Linked DNA regions of Homo sapiens: regions 1, 2, 3, 5 and 6 are each linked to region 4. The links are contacts of gene promoters, found by promoter capture Hi-C in blood cells and fetal thymus (Javierre and others, 2016). All regions are on one chromosome and are shown on one strand. Each heading gives the region's core, a stretch centred on a gene start or on the middle of the fragment in contact. The rest is flanking DNA. Distances are from core to core; before and after follow the strand shown. Region 1 overlaps TRAK2 (trafficking kinesin protein 2). Region 2 overlaps CASP8 (caspase 8). Region 3 overlaps TRAK2 (trafficking kinesin protein 2). Region 4 holds the start of ORC2 (origin recognition complex subunit 2). Region 5 has its middle 18 kb from the start of FLACC1. Region 6 overlaps STRADB (STE20 related adaptor beta).

Evidence for each region. Contacts are between HindIII fragments. The CHiCAGO score rates a contact against its expected background, and 5 or more counts as called.
Region 1: a fragment that was not itself captured here is called in contact with the fragment with the promoter of ORC2 in region 4 in 1 of 17 cell types (neutrophils); the score reaches 6.5 in neutrophils.
Region 2: a fragment that was not itself captured here is called in contact with the fragment with the promoter of ORC2 in region 4 in 2 of 17 cell types (neutrophils and total B cells); the score reaches 7.9 in neutrophils.
Region 3: a fragment that was not itself captured here is called in contact with the fragment with the promoter of ORC2 in region 4 in 1 of 17 cell types (activated CD4 T cells); the score reaches 5.1 in activated CD4 T cells.
Region 5: a fragment that was not itself captured here is called in contact with the fragment with the promoter of ORC2 in region 4 in 1 of 17 cell types (neutrophils); the score reaches 5.1 in neutrophils.
Region 6: a fragment that was not itself captured here is called in contact with the fragment with the promoter of ORC2 in region 4 in 1 of 17 cell types (neutrophils); the score reaches 5.5 in neutrophils.

The regions. Positions count from the first base shown.
Region 1 is chr2:201,438,527-201,441,282 of GRCh38, forward strand. All of the region lies in intron 1 of TRAK2 (trafficking kinesin protein 2), which reads right to left. Among named protein-coding and RNA genes, the nearest start is that of TRAK2, 12 kb to the right of the region's middle. The HindIII fragment of the contact is 1,540 bases long and covers 689-2,228 here.
Region 2 is chr2:201,277,501-201,280,200 of GRCh38, forward strand. The region is part of intron 7 of CASP8 (caspase 8); the gene reads left to right. Among named protein-coding and RNA genes, the nearest start is that of CASP8, 18 kb to the left of the region's middle. The HindIII fragment of the contact is 3,204 bases long and covers 1-2,700 here.
Region 3 is chr2:201,392,344-201,395,043 of GRCh38, forward strand. It overlaps TRAK2 (trafficking kinesin protein 2), which reads right to left. Exons shown (of 16, transcript NM_015049.3): 9 at 2,455-2,529; 10 at 566-703. Among named protein-coding and RNA genes, the nearest start is that of FLACC1, 36 kb to the left of the region's middle. The HindIII fragment of the contact is 2,327 bases long and covers 161-2,487 here.
Region 4 is chr2:200,962,274-200,965,062 of GRCh38, forward strand. It overlaps ORC2 (origin recognition complex subunit 2), which reads right to left and starts at 1,387. Exons shown (of 18, transcript NM_006190.5): 1 at 1,217-1,387. LOC105373835 (a long non-coding RNA gene) reads left to right here and starts at 1,159. Exons shown (of 3, transcript NR_187976.1): 1 at 1,159-1,357. RefSeq lists an enhancer at 620-689 and a silencer at 1,398-1,796. The HindIII fragment of the contact is 10,169 bases long and covers 1-2,789 here.
Region 5 is chr2:201,374,136-201,376,835 of GRCh38, forward strand. No RefSeq gene overlaps it. Among named protein-coding and RNA genes, the nearest start is that of FLACC1, 18 kb to the left of the region's middle. The HindIII fragment of the contact is 4,146 bases long and covers 1-2,700 here.
Region 6 is chr2:201,455,147-201,457,846 of GRCh38, forward strand. All of the region lies in intron 2 of STRADB (STE20 related adaptor beta), which reads left to right. Among named protein-coding and RNA genes, the nearest start is that of STRADB, 4.8 kb to the left of the region's middle. The HindIII fragment of the contact is 780 bases long and covers 922-1,701 here.

The DNA.
Region 1 (2,756 bases), core at 209-2,708, 480 kb after region 4:
AAGAGCCAGGAATAAAACCCAACTATGTTTTTCCAAAGCTGAGGCCTCTATCCTCTGAGCTTTACTAGCAAGGGACTGGAGTGTGAGGATAGTAGTGTGTGTGTAGTTTGCAAAAGCCTCAGATAATTCTACTACAATCCTATGTCTCTACTCCACTTTTTAAAAACACATAGTGGTTACTGAATATAGAAGAAGAAGAAAAAAAACAAGTAATCCGCTCCCCCCAACCATTTGTTCTTGAGCAATTTATATTTGCTTTTAGAAATGACTTATCTGGTTCCAGAGTTGGGTGTATTTACAGTGAGGCAGAATAATCTGTGTGTGTGTTGTATGTACATCACACAATTCTTAATGAGACAACTCCAAATCTGACTTTGGTTCTGTTTTTAAGTGGGTAATTCTACAATATCAAGAAAATAATACAGATGTATTACCATAAATTGGGAAGCATTCTGTTACTTGTTTTGAACTGCTAAAAGTAGTAAATGGAACATAGATAAAAAATAAATCTCTATTCCAATAAATTAAGTCTACCTCTATCTTAGTATCTGGCAAATGACAGGCATTCAATAAATATCTGTTAAATGAATGAATCAGGCTGTAGTCAAATTACATCCTTGTAGTCTATAGTAGGGAGGAAAATGAACTGCATAGGAATATGAGACTGTTAGAACATGTGGAAATGGAAAGCTTTCTTAGCCTAATTTACAAAAGTCTACATAGGTCTCTCATGGGTATCAGTAAAGTAGGTGTACGTGCAGGGCTATACCAACTAAGCTCATCGGTTACTCTGAAGGTGCAAACATTCCCTAGAGATGGGATTGACAACATGATGGCAAAAATACCACAGAATCTTTAATACTTTTTTTTTTTGTGGTTTTCCATGGTTTTCTTATTTTAAAAAACATTGATGGTAAGATGTTTTCCTCCTGAAGTTAACACATGATAACGAGGAAAGTCCAATAAACTGCCATGGGAGGAAAAAAAAAGTCCTTAGGCCAGACAGAAAATAATTTGATGACTCAGGATCATTACTAAGAAGAGCAATTACTGTATTATAATATAATGACTACAGTGATATCCTCCAGGATTATAAACTTTTAAAGAGCTTTTTCTGGGTGGTGTAGCCAAGATGGCAAAATAGAAAATAACCTGCTCAAATGTCCAACAATGATAGACTGGATTAAGAAAATGTGGCACATATACACCATGGAATACTATGCAGCCATAAAAAATGATGAGTTCATGTCCTTTGTAGGGACATGGATGAAATTGGAAATCATCATTCTCAGTAAACTATCGCAAGGACAAAAAACCAAACACCGCATGTTCTCACTCATAGATGGGAATTGAACAATGAGAAAACATGGACACAGGAAGGGGAACATCACACTCTGGGGACTGTTGTGGGGTGGGGGGAGGGGGGAGGGATAGCATTAGGAGATATACCTAATGCTAAATGATGAGTTAATGGGTGCAGCACACCAGCATGGCACATGTATACATATGTAACTAACCTGCACATTGTGCACATGTACCCTAAAACTTAAAGTATTAAAAAAAAAAAGTGCCTCTTAAAGAAGAAAAAAGAAAAAGAAAATAACCCGCTCATATGTGACCCCAACAAGTCTGCACCCATCCATAGTTAAAGAGCTCTTTCTCCCTATAGTAAATAATCCCAAATTGCTATTTTTTTTTTAAGATTTTAAGCCCATTTCTAATTTTGTTTCCTCCCTCACTGTGAGGCTATCAACTACTACACTTTACTGTTGCTAGCTTGCCTCTCCCCTTTCTAACTCGCTGTTGGCTGAGAAACCAGATAAGCAGGTTATCAGAACACCCATAAGGTGTCTGTTTGACTGAACTCCAGGACCTGTTTTTCTGCCCTTGGCTGACTTCCCAAATACCTCTTTCTTTCATCCCTCCAGCACCAGGGATTTAGCTGGCTTTCTCCTCCTCCTTTGGCACTGTCAGCAAGTGCTTTTCTCACCTGGTATTCTTTTACCTAGCCTAGCTATGAACATGAACACACTCTGTCCTTTCTTAACTGTCTCCCTAGAAAAGACAGCTCTTCCTCTATTCTTTTGTGAGAATTTTACTGTTAATTGCTAGGGGAAATATAAAGTGGATTATAAATATGGAAAAAAGGTTTAGGAAATCTTAACATCCCTCACTGTAATTTTTGCTTTTAACCCATTTATGCCTACTGTTCCATTATTGGAATGCTAAGCTTGTGGGAGTCATATCCTACTGCTCAAGGTCATCGCCAAAGTCTGATTTTTCACACAAAAAAATTTGCAACCTCTGGCATAAATGGGTTAATCAGTGTTTATTGATTCCCTTTCTTGGATGATCCCAGAAGATGGCTGCCCACTAGTCATTCTTCCCTCACTACACTGCAAGTTCCTCAAAGGAAGGGACCTTATTTTTGTTATGTCCAAAACCTAACAGCAACTGACACACAGTAGTCTTGCAAAATACGTGCCTACTACCTAGAAGCTTAATCATTAAAAATATCAATACACTGAGTTACAGAAGTAATTTAATGAACAAAGTTGATATTAATACATTTTCAATACAACATCAACTAAATGAATTGCCTTGAAAAACACAGTTAAGCTAAGATTGAATATTCTAAAGAAAAACACTTATGTGCTTTATGAAAAAATCTGCATAAAAGAGTTTGGTGTTAAAAGGGTGCTTTATCATTTTTATAGCAATGACACACTATACACTTTTCTGTAATAACTAAAAAG
Region 2 (2,700 bases), core at 86-2,585, 320 kb after region 4:
AAAGTGACTACAACAACAAAAAATAAAAATCATCCATCACCATTGAGAGATTAATAATTTTGATTTGATCAAAGAACTTTTGGAAATAGTGTTTATCAGGCATAACATCAATTATTGATTTGTTTTGCAAATGGAGGTAAGTTTAGAAAATTAATGTAGACTGATTATAATCATCAGGAGTCTGTAATGGCCCCTATTAACATTTTTTTTTTTTTTTTGAGACAAAGTCTCACTCTGTTGCCCAGGCTGGAGTGCAGTGGTGTGATCTCAGCTCACTGCAGCCTCCACCTCCCTGGTTCAAGTGATTCTCCTGCCTCAGCCTCCCAAGTAGCTGGGACTACAGGCACACACCACCACACATGGCTAATTTTTGTATTTTTAGTAGAGATGGGGTTTTGCCATATTGGCCAGGCTGGTCTTGAACTCCTGACCTCAAGTGATCCGCCTGCCTCGGCCTCCCAAAGTGCTGGAATTACAGGTGTCAGCCACCTGTACCTGGTCCCTGCTAACATTTGATTTGTTTATTTAAGCAAATCTAAGCCTTTAAAAAGGCACAGAGATTAAGTCCATTGATTACATCATTCGTCACTATGCGCTTGGTATTGAAAAAAATATTTTGGACCCTTGATTTGTATTCTTTTAAAATTAAAACATTTCTATTAAAATAACATTTGCTTCTATTTCTGGCAGCTCATTTTCTTATAACTGGCCCATGATTGACTAGTCTCTGGTAGGCATTCGAGTCTGTGTGTCCTGCTTTTTCTGTTCCTGTTCTTATGTTTTATGCTGAATGAGTAAAAGTAGGAGACCCAGCTGCAGAAGTCATTTCTCCTGAGAGACTCCCTTCTGTCCTGCTTCAGTGCCTTCAGACTTGCTTTACAGTCATTTTTTTAATCAACATTCCACATTTCCAAAGGATCAGAATTTTTTTCACAGAACCAACACACTGTATTAGTCTTGCCAAAGTGCTTCCAAATCAACAAGGGCCTATTGCATTTCAGTTATTTTTTTCTATTCCTAATGCTAGACTGTATTTTTTCTTTTTTTTTTTTTTGAGGCAGAGTCTCACTCTGTTGCCCAGGCTGCAGTGCAATAACATGATCTTGGCTCACCGCAACCTCTGCCTCCCAGGTTCAAGTGATTCTCCTGCCTCAGCCTCCCAAGTAGCTGGGATTACAGGCATGTGCCACCATACCCAGTTAATTGTATTTAGTAGAGATGGGGTTTCACCATGTTGGTCAGGCTGTTCTTGAACTCCTGACCTCAGGTGATCCACTCGCCTCGGCCTACCAAAGTGCTGGGATTACAGGTGTGAGCCACTGCACCTGGCTGAGACTGCCTTTTGACTGATGACTTATGTTTAGCTCTGATGTGCTGACAGGGACAAAATGCTGGAGAAGGAATAAAAAAGGAATAATCCAACAAGGATCAAGAGAACAGGAAAGGAGACAATAGCTAATGAAAGGTTTCCAACAATTTGGGGGAGTTGAAAAAAAAGAGTCGAGGTAATTGACTTAACAGAGAAAGCTACAACCTCACTGATTACAGAGGGGAACACGGAAAGGAGGCAAGCCTATTTACCCCCACAGAATCCTGGAAAAATTCAGCAATTGGAAGTACAAAGTGTAGGTGAGGCAATGAGCAGAAAACAGGAAGATTCTTTGAAAGCCTATATAAGCCTATACAATCCTCTGATTCATACCTTCCTCTCATAGAGCCAGCAACTATTCTTATTCTACCATCATAAGGAACAGGAAGTTTGTTTTCTCATAAAATTGAACCAGAGAGGCTCTACACTTCGGTGTGCCAGGCCCAGCAAAGGAAGCAATGAAGCATTTTACTGAACACAGAGAGACTGAAGAAAACCTGCTGGTGGCATGGAGTCAGATCTCTAAACCAACTTGGTTCCAAGACACTGGCAGCAGATACAGACTTACCTCTGGAGAAGCTGAAAGCTCTAGCTAAAATACATACAGATAATGACATCTGGAGGTTTCCTAATGAAATGATCAGGTCCCCAACCAATCATCTTGCTATGAAATCCCTCAGAGAACAAGCCACATCCACAAACACAGAGCTTTCAGTCGACTTTTTAATGGACTAATTAGTCAATTTATGAATGGACAACCAAAGGTCAGCAGGCATTTGAAGAAAGGCTCTAATACGAAAGAGAGGTAGCTTGGTACGGTGGCGTGAAAATCCAGCACTTTGGGAGGCCGAGGCAGGCGAATCGCCTGAGGTCAGGAGTTCAAGCCCAGCCTGACCAACATGGTGAAACCCCATCTCTACTAAAAATACAAAAATTAGCCAGGCATGGTGGCAGGTGCCTGTAACCCCAGCTACTACAGAGGCTGAGGCAGAAGAATCACTTGAACCTGGGAGGTGGAAGTTGCAGTGAGCTGAGATCGTACCACTGCACTCCAGCCTGGGTGACAGAGCAAGACTCCATCTCAAATAAATAAATAAATTACTAGATAAATGAGAGGCAATGCAAACAACAAGAAAAACATGAAACAGAATATGAATGAAAAAAAGATAATGTTGAGAAAAAAGCAACCTTTTTTAATGCTTAATATTGGTATTTAGTATTCTTAGAGAGTTAGTTAAAGGTCCATGAAAGAACAAGATGTTATGAAAAAGGGACAGAACAAGCAAGTCTCCTTGAAAATTAAAAATTTGAGCACCAAAATGAAAAATTCA
Region 3 (2,700 bases), core at 74-2,573, 430 kb after region 4:
GTTCACAGGATTGCACAGAAGTTTAAGAATCAGATTGTTAAAACAACTCTTTGAACCAACATTACAAATTCTAATATAAACTCAGAAGTTTTTATTAATTTTTTAATACAAAAATACCATTTATAAATGAATCAAACAAAGATGAATCTTGTTCTCATGAAGCTTACATTCTAACAAGTTAAAAATATCAGGAGACTCAAGATTTATTGAAAGAGGTTTTAGATATTCAAAGCACCACTTAAGTAAGTGGCAGGCTGTGGGCCTAGGGTAGGATGACCCAAGTTTAACTAGTTCTATGGTACACAGTCCTAAACTGAATTTCCTTAGGGCTCATCTTATGTATTATTGATACAATATATCTGGAAAGTCACCTGTTAGAATAAATAAGAGTATTAAGGAAGATGTCAATATACAAATTAGGGCCTAAATCAATAATTGGAGTCCAGAAACAAGGAAAAAATCTCTTCTCCAGATGTTTTATACCATCATAAACCATCAAACTTTTAGGACAAACTAATCTTAAACAAATTTCTTTAAATACATAGCATCTTTCTTAGTTGCTTACCCCAGTAAAAGCTCCATATGATTGGGAGAAGTAGAGATGAGCAGTAGGGCCAGATCTACTACGAAGTTCCTTTATTTCTTCTTGGGATTCATGTAACATTCCTAGACACTCCATATTCCTGTCTTGTAACTCGTGCAGCTAAAAGAAAGGATGGTAGTGTACTTTATTGCCTTCCCAAAACAACATTAGGGAAAAAAAACCCGAAACCTTTTGGGATAAGTATTGATTTTACCCAGAGGGCTAGCTAACTTTATGAATATCATTTCAATACAAAGACTAAAACAAACTAAGCAAGAAGCGTATATATATATATTGAGCTACCAGAATTAGGGAGGGGTGTCTTGGCCAAAATTATACACGGATGTGACTTCCTGAAAGTCTGAAACGTAGCTAGACTACCAGAACTGTCAATTTAATATTGAATGCTTCATACACTTAACAGAGGAAGTATAACAGCTACAGTCAAGTTAGGTTTAGTATAATATTAATCTTTTTAAACATCACTCTGAAGTCTGTAAGTGACAAGATCAAGAGCCTACAAAGTGTTATATACAATGTCAGTGTGCTCAATCCTCCTAAACAAGTAGATCTTCGTGCCTTGTTTCAGAACCTTCTTTACAACTAGATATACACATCTGATAAAAGAGTACATAATTTTCAGAGTATATTTTAACTGTAAAATTTCTTCAAGTGCAGTATATGCCCCAGTTCATCAGAATCACCAGGGTTGAAGATGCTTATTAAAAATGCAGATTCTAGGCTCTCACTCCAGACCACTTGAAGTAGAAGCTCTTGGGATGGTGCCTGGAAATCGCCATTTAAAACTTGCTCTCCGAGGTGATTCTTTCCCCCTCCCTCCTACAAGATATCACTCTGTTGCCCAGGGTTGAGTGCAGTGGTGTGATTATGGCTCACTACAGTCTCAATCTTCTGGGCTTAAGTGATCCTTCTACCTCAGCCTCTCAAATAGCGGGGACCACAGGCGTGCACCACTACACCTAGCTAAGTTTTTGATTGTTTTGTAGAGACGAAGGTTTCCTTATGTTGTACAGGCTGGTCTCAAATTCCTGGGCTCAAGCCATCCTCCCACCTTGGCCTCCCAAAGTGCTGGGATGACAGGCATGAGCTACTGTGCTTGGCTCCAGGTGATACTAATGCATGCTAAAGAATCACTAAGTTATATTTAATAAATAAAATTTTATGTAGATAGAAAGTAAGAGATTTTTTGCTTCTTCTCCTGACACACCTGCACAAAGATTTACTACTAGAACTTATCTTATTTTAAAAACTGTTGAGCTAGTTTAGGTCAGCTGGTAAAAGAGTGATATACTCCTAAAGAATCTTATAAAGTTGAGGTTTTCCCTATTAATCAAGAAGGATGTTACCACGTTACTAGTTTTAGGGACAGGACTTTTAAAATGCTTTATTCTTTTTCTTTCTTTTTTTTTTTTTGAGACGAAGTCTTGCTTTGTTGCCCAGGCTGGAATGCAGTGGCACATCTGGGCCCACTGCAATCTCTACCTCCTGGGTTCCAGTGATTCTCCTGCTTCGCCTCCTGGGTAGCTGGGATTACAGATGCCCACCACCATGCCCAGCTAACTTTTGTATTTTTATTAGTGATGGGGTTTCACCATGTTGGCCAGGCTGGTCTTGAACTCCTGACCTCAGGTGATCCACCCACCTCGGCCTCCCAAAGTGCTGGGATTACAGGCGTGAGCCACCACAACCAGCCAAAATGCTTTACTTCTTAGATCTCATAATATCATCTTAACCTTTTGTTGTTGTTTTTTAAATCTGGTAATTCCCCTTTAATAATTCTTATTCATGAAGATGAAAGAAACTAGTCACTCTTTCCCCTCCTGAATTACACAAGATAAAGATTTCATTACCTCCATTGTCAGTTGCCGTTGGGCATCTTTGGAAGCTTGCAGGTGAAGTTTTAGTTCTTCCTTCTCAATCACATGCTAACAACATATTAAAAAAGACATGTGAAGCCTTTCCAAGTAAAATATAGCTATTCTCTTTCTTATAAAGACATGTGAAGAATTTCTCTCTGGGGTATCATCTTAAAGCCTACAAAAAGCTAACCTTTCAAAAGCTAAATAAGATAGGCATTCGAATACAAAATCTATCAA
Region 4 (2,789 bases), core at 137-2,636:
AGGCCAACCCCTTTCAAGGAGTTACTTCAAGGCAATTCTGCAGCACCAAGTGTTAGCATTGCACCAAGTGGTAGCAACACACTCTCCTTTGAAAACAAATAAAAGATTTGCTGTAATTTTTAAAAACATAATCCTTTGAAAAAGAAGGTTGGATAGATTAGTGGTTAAACACCAATTTTAATATTGGAGAAACCTGAGTTCCAATCTCCACTCCATACTTTATAACTGTGTGACTTTGTCCAAAGTCCTGACGATTAAATGAAATGATGTGCCTGATATATAAAAGAGCATCACTGAATGCTCCCAATTATCGGTATTTTTACTTTAACCTTTTTCTTTTTTAGCTCCTTACTGCAGTGCACTGAGATATTTTTACTTTAAACTTCAACTTAACCATGCAGATCTCTTGTACATCTCTAACTCATTCAACATCTAACAGAAAAACTGCTCAATAAGTGATGATGTCCGTTTAACGTGCAGTGCCCTTATATAACGGTGTAGGGCCGTGCTATTTTTCTTCAGATTGCAATTTAACTGCGGGAAAGTGTAATGATTCTATTAGGATTTCAATTGTAAAATGAAAAGTAACGTCTCAACATCTTTTTAATTAAAAAGCTCTACCAAAAGAGCCTGGCTTATCAACATTTTACAGCCAAGCATGGCTCCAAGGTGACCGATCAGTTAGCTGGCAGGACACATTGGTGCCTCCAGGCTGGGATGACATCAAAGGTTCTAGCTACAGTGGTTCTGGGACGCGATCTCTTCCTCTTCATACCTCACAGGGCACTTTACCACTGTCGTTACACATCTTCACAGTTCTCCTTTTCCAACCAGAGGGCTTCGTAAGCTGGGAATCAGGTAGGTTAGTATCAGGCGTCCCTTGCACAAAAGGCCTATAACTGCGGGGCAGACTAACGAAAGGTCCTCCCAGAGTGAGCCTCTCACCTCAAGTCTTAAAGGACTTTGGCCTGCGCCTCCAGCCTCTGGCCAGTTGGCTGCGCTCCACCAGTAAGGGTTCTCGAGCCCCCGGGCAGCCTGCGGGGGGCAGCGAGGCGCAAAGACCATGCCCCAAGTGCCGAGGGAAAGTCCTGAGATGCGCGACTTGGGACGCTAGGGGCCAAGCTCCGACGCGGGGCTGGGTGCACCTGGACGCACCTCACACGCCGCGAGCTAAGCAGAAAAGGGAGGCAGGCTGCCCCGACACCCCACTACTCACCGCTAGGTTTCCGTCTGGCGCCGATCCGGCTGCGTCACGCCGGCCGAACGACACCCCGCTGAGTCGCCGCCGCAGGGAAGGTACCTTCGGCCCCAACGGGAAAAGCCAATTTCCAGTAATTCGCGCCCGACCACCGGGGAGGTAAGGAGCACCGGAGGCCAGCTGGGGGATGGGAAGCCTGCGTGCGGCACACCGAATCTCCCGCCCTGTTCAGGGGGCGGTGCCCGAGGAAGCCAATAGGAAGAGGAGTCGGCCAAGAGCGACGGCTCTGCCGTCCAGTCGGCGCCGGCCATTCGGCCCCGCCCATCAGGAAACCTGAGGAAAACGGATTCTTGGGCCCTGAGTTGTGGGCCTTACCTTTCCTTTCTTCTTTCCGTTTCCGGGGAAGGGAAAAGGAAGTGTTGTTTGGATCTGAGGAAGTTTGCACAGTAGCTGGCTGAGTGGTAGCTGTTTGTCTTGTAGCAATCTTTAAAAAGTGTTCTTTGGGGTCGGGCGCAGTGTCTCACGCCTCTAATCCCAGCACCTTGGGAGGCCGAGGCGGGCGAATCACCTGAGGTCGGGAGCTCGAGACCAGTCTGACCGACATGGAGAAACCCCGTCTCTCCTAAAAATACAAAATTAGCCGGGCGTGGTGGCGCATGCCTGTAATACTAGCTACTCGGGAGGCTGAGGCAGGAGAAACGCTTGAACCCGGGAGGCGGACGTTGCAGTGAGCCGAGATCGAGCCATTGCATTCCAGCCTGGGCAACAAGAGCGAAACTCCGTCTCAAAAAAAAAAAAAAAAAAAAAAAAAAGTGTTCATTGGTTTCCCAGCTACCTTTTGAAGAAAAAGGTAATGGAAATTGATTCGCATTTCTTTTTTAAAGATTTTCTTCATTTGGCGTGAAAGGTAGGATCTTGTACATCTCCAGGGTTTGGGGTAGGGAGAAGAAGAGACGTTAGGAGAAGCACTGAATATGGAGATGGGATCGGACGGCTAGTGGGATGAAGAGGCTGGGGAAATAGAATGAATAGACAGAGAAAATGATTGACTTCAACTATCCAAAATATAAAAAAGACAAGACAGAGAAAATGAGGAAGAAAAGGAATGAACCTGGATGGGATCCATACAGTATTAAGAACAGGGTATTGTTTCATTTGGATTCACTTACTCAAAACAAAACTACAGAGTACTCTGCGAACAGAAGATAAGTATTCATTATCGAGCGAGACAACTACGATCTCTGCATTCACTGTAGTTACCTAGCACGTGAAGATATTGAACGGACAATATTGAGAAAAATACCATGATATGGGAAGTGCATTGGAGCACATGGTAGGAGTAGCTAATTAAAAGCCCAGAAGGAGTCAGGAACAATTTTCTAGGAGGAAGAGATGTTTAAACTGAAACCCCTGTGTTGAATAGATTTAAAACAGGCCAAGAGGGGTAAAATTTTCCAGGTAGAAGGTCCAAATCCGTGTAACAGCTGTGTAAAATGCCAAGCATTGGGTCTGTTATTATGAAGGGCTTAGTTGGCCCTTAGGGCACTGGTCAGATTTGTATTGAAAGATCTTTGGATAAAGGAGGTAGGAT
Region 5 (2,700 bases), core at 99-2,598, 410 kb after region 4:
AAAACGTTCCATGCTCATGGATAGGAAGAATCAATACCGTGAAAATGGCCATACTGCCCAAAGTAATTTATAGATTTGATGCTATCCCCATCAAGCTACCACTGACTTCCTTCACAGAATTGGAAAAAACTACTTTAAATTTCATACGGAACCAAAAAAGAGCCTGCATAGCCAAGACAATCCTAAGCAAAAAGAACAAAGCTGGAGGCATCACGCTACCTGACTTCAAACTATACTACAAGACTACAGTAACGAAAACAGCATGGTACTGGTACCAAAACAGATATATAGACCAAGGGAACAGAACAGAGCCCTCAGAATTAACACCACACATCTACAGCCATCTGATCTTTGACAAACCTGACAAAAACAAGCAATGGGGAAAGGATTCCCTATTTAATAAAATGGTGCTGGGGAAACTGGCTAGCCATATGCAGAAAGCTGAAACTGTATCCCTTCCTTACACCTCATACAAAAATTAACTCAAGATGGATTAAAGACTTAAACATAAGCCCTAAAACCATAAAAACCCTACAAGAAAACCTAGGCAATACCATTTAGAACATAGGCATGGGCAAAGACTTCATGACTAAAACACCAAAAGCAATGGCAGCAAAAGTCAAAATAGACAAATGGGATCTAATTAAACTAAAGAGCTTCTGCACAGCCAAAGAAACTACCATCAGAGAGAACAGGCAACCTAGAGAATGAGAGAAAATTTTTGCAATCTATCCATCTGACAAAGGGCTAATATCCAGACTCTACAAAGAACTTAAAAAAATTTACAACAAAAAAACAAACAACCCCATCAAAAAGTGGGCAAAGGATATGAACAGACACTTCTCAAAAGAAGGCATTTATGCAGCCAGCAAACATATGAAAAAAAAACCTCATCACTGGTCATTAGAGAAAATGGAAATCAAAACCACAATGAGATACCATCTCACTCCAGTTAGAATGGCAATGATTAAAAAGTCAGGAAACAACAGATGCTGGAGAGAATGTGGAGAAATAGAAATGCTTTTACACTGTTGGTGGGAGTATAAATTAGTTCAACCACTGTGGAAGACAGTGTGGCAATTCCTCAAGAATCTAGAACTAGAAATATCATTTGACCCAGCAATCCCATTATTGGATATATACCCAAAAGATTATAAATCATTCTACTATAAAGACACATGCACACGTATGTTTATTGCAGCACTGTTCACAATAGCAAAGACTTGGAACCAACCCAAATGCCCATCAATGATAGACTGGATAAAGAAAATGTGGCACATATACACCATGGAATACTATGCAGCCATAAAAAGGATGAGTTCGTTTCCTTTGCAGGGACATGGATGCAGCTAGAAACCATCATTCTCAGCAAACTAACACAAGAACAGAAAACCAAACACTGCATGTTCTCACTTATAAGTGGAGTTGATCAATGAGAACACATGGACACAGGGAGGGGACCATCACACACCAGGGCCTGTTGGGGGGTGGGGGGTGCCTAGGGGAGGGACAGCATTAGGAGAAATACCTAACGTAGATGACGGGTTGATGGGTGCAGCAAACCACCATGGCATGTGTATACCTATGCAACAAACCTGCATGTTTTGCCATGTACCGCAGAACTTAAAGTATAATAATAGTAATAATAATATGTGCCAGATGCAGTGGCTCATGTCTGTAATCCCAGCACTTTCAGAGGCCAAGGCAGGAGAATCGCTTGAGTTCAGGAATTTGAGACCAGCCTGGGCAGCATGGTGAGTCCCTATCTCTGCAAAAAATACAAAAATTAACTGGACTTTATGGAACACACCTGCACTTCCAGCTACTTGGGAAGTTGAGGTGGGAGGATCGATTGAGCACAGGAGGTTGAGGTTGCAGTGAGCCATGATTGCACGACTGCACTCAAGCCTGGGTGACAGAGCAAGACTCTGTCTCATAATGAACAAATAAACAAAAAAACAGATACTAGCGAGGCTGTGGAGAAAAGGGAATGCTCGTACACCGTTGGTGGGAATGTAAATTAGCTCAGCCACTTTGGAAGGCAGTTTGGAGATTTCTCAAAGAAATTAAATCAGAACTACCATTCAACCCAGTAATTCCACTATTGGGTATACATCCAAAAGAAAATAAATCATTCTACAAAAAGATACATGCATTCATGTTCATCGCAGCATTATTCACAATAGCAAAGACATGGAATCAACCCAAGTGTCCATCAGTGGTGGACTGGATAAGGAAAATGTTGTATATATACACCATGGAATAGTATGCAGCCATAAAAAACCCTGAAATCATGTCCTTCATGGCAACATGCATGTAGGTAGAGGTCATTATCCTAAGCAAATTAACACAGAAACAGAAAACCAAATACTGCATGTTCTCACTTACAAGTGGGAGGTAAACACTGGCTACTCAAGGACATAAAGATGGCAACAATAGAAACTGGGGGCTATTACAGCAGGGATGGAGGGGGGAAAGGGTTGAAAAACTATGTATTGGATGCTATACTCTGTATCTGGGTAACAGGATCTATCATACTCTAAGCCTCAGCCTCATGGAACATATCCAGGTAACAACCCTGCACATATATCCCAGAATCTAAAATAAAAATGGAAATTATAAAAAAAAAAGAAATTAAATTGTGAAGAAGACAAAGTATCAAAAGACCTTTTCTGTTAGAGTCTAACAATGTTCAAATTT
Region 6 (2,700 bases), core at 62-2,561, 490 kb after region 4:
CTTATCTTTTAAATCTTTCAGAAATTCCTTTTACAAATTTCCATCTGACCAAAAGCAAGCCAAACAGTATTAAAAATAACCCCTTTGACTTAACCGAAATAAAATCATTTGGATCAATGTATATATGAGGTATAGCTGCCAACTGGTTTTCTATTTATATTTAGATCCGTGGTATCTACTTTAGATTAAGTAGCTTGAGGACTTTCATCCTGTTTTATACATAATAATAATATTTGAATAGGGAATACTTATATTAAAATGTGGTTTTTAAAAAAGTAATGAGTAGACCACGTGTAGTGGCTCACACCTGTAATCCCAGCATTTTTAGGGGCCAAGGCTAGAGAATCAGTTGAACCCAGGAGTTCAACACCAGCCTAGGCAACATAGTGAGATCCTGTCTGTATAAAATATTAGCCAGACGTAGTGTCATATGCCTGTAGTCTCAGCTACTCAGAGGGTTAAGGTGGGAGGATCCCTTGAACAAGGGATCAAGGCTGCAGTGAACTGTGATCATGCCATTGCATTCCAGCCTGGGTGATAGAGGGAGATCCTGTCTCAAAAAAAAAAAAGGATGAGTATATTTGTATGATGATTTATAGTTTACAAATACTTTCATATATTTCTTTCATAGTTTCAAATTGTGTAAGTTTAGCAGGGCAGGTGGCATTATCCTCATTTTCAGTTTGTCCAAGATTGCAAAAAGTTGGAGCCAGACTCATACCTGCCAATCTATTCTATCAATTACCAAGGCTGAGAGGCAGAACTATGAAGTTAGAAGACTGGATTGTTAGTAATATGGAAAATACATAACACAGTTACTTACATGTTTAAAGTAAAGCATTACCACTTGAAAGAGAAGCTTTATATATCTGGAAAATACACGGAGGTGAAATGTTTTATTCTGTAAAGGAGGGATCAGCAAGCTTTTCTGTAAAGGCCAGATAGTATTTACAGACCCTTTGGTCTTTGTTACAGCTACTTTTCTGCTGAAATACTAGCATGAAAGCAGCCATAGGCAATATATAAATGAATGAATGAATGTATCTGTGTTCCAGTAAAACTTTACTCACAAAAACAGGTGGTGGGTCAGATTTGGCTCATGGACCATAGTTTGCCGACCCTTACTCTAAAGGATTACTTAAGATTTACAATTTTATATCAATTTTTAAGTTGGAAAAGATGTGAAAGGGCATTCAGTCTATTCCCTTCATTTGATAGGCGAGAATTGTGAGATTCAAAGGGCTGTGTGTTGCCCAGGGCTTTCAAATTTTGGAAAAAGAATATCTTAGCCTATTATTCCATAATTATGGGTTTTGTGAAAAATAATAGAATGTGATAATGGGTGATTTATATCGTTAATGATTGTAACTTTAAATCACATTTTTCTGCAATGGTGAAATATTTTAAATTCTTTGAATCGAAATATTTACTTTTTTTCCTTAAACGAGAAATTTGTGCAGTTGGGATAAAGTTGATACTTTTACTTAAGGATTCCTCCCCATTCAAGTTTTACCCTCTATTTGAGAACTAAGAAATGCTGTTTTCAAAGGAGCAGCATATGTAAAAATATCTTCTTTCAGTTTCTTTGTAAGGTCTAACTACTTTTTACTTGGCTATTATGATAATGGATAAAGAAATTATATTCAAAAATATTCAAAGGGAAAAGGTATGTGGGGTGAAGTTCAGAGGAAACCAGGCACAAGCTTTCAAGAATCTTTTCTCAGTGGAGTTCCATAGTATATGCACAGTTCCCCCAGAGTTGTGACATGTGAAATGTTGTCTACTAGGGAAGCTCATTAGAGACTTGGACTTAAGGTTTTTATTGGGGACTTGTCACGTAGGCGTGCTCTGCTAGCAAGTAACAAAATTCCAGTCTCCCAGAAAAAAAGCCAGGTGTTCAGCATAAACTGTATTATTTGCACAAACAGTTTAGACACAGTGAGCGATTCTTATGAAGGGAACCTCTGCAAAATCCCAGTTCCCAGATACTAGCCAAGGGTCAACCTTATAAGCAGCTATTTTCTAAGAATAGCAGTTTTAGGCCTGCTGTTAATTCTTCTTTTGCACAGTGGTATTAATGGTCGTTGTGAAAAATTCAAGCTAAATGTTGTAAAAATATATAAATACCAAACAATATATAAATGTCCTGCCCAGCTGGTGGATATTTTCAATATGAACAACAGTAATAAGTATCTTCAAAAACTGTTTTATTATAAATGTTATTCACCCTAGGAAGCCATTAGAAACTCTGCAGAGGAATCAGTTGTACAGCTATCTTGACATTGTTAGCGTCTATTCTTCAGGGTGAGTTTTACATAAAACAGTGGGAATATATACCAAATTTTTGTAATAGATTTATAAAGTATACAGACTGTAGGAATTCAAGTTAAAATAATCAGTAATGAAGGCTAACTGGGACAATGACTAGTTTGATTAGTGAGAAATTCTGGCATATCTTAAAAGGAAATTTATATTTAAGTAATTGACTACAAAGTGTTAAGTAGACATAGGTAGACATATCTTAAGAGACTCATTTGATATTGTACTTTAATGTTAATATAAAAATAAGATGCTTGAAATGAAAAATTCTGAAATGGCTGTGGTGGCTCACGCCTATAATCCCAGCACTTTGGAAGGCTGAGGTGGGCGGAACACTTGATTGAGGTCAGGAGTCTGAAACCAGCCTGGCCAACATGGTGA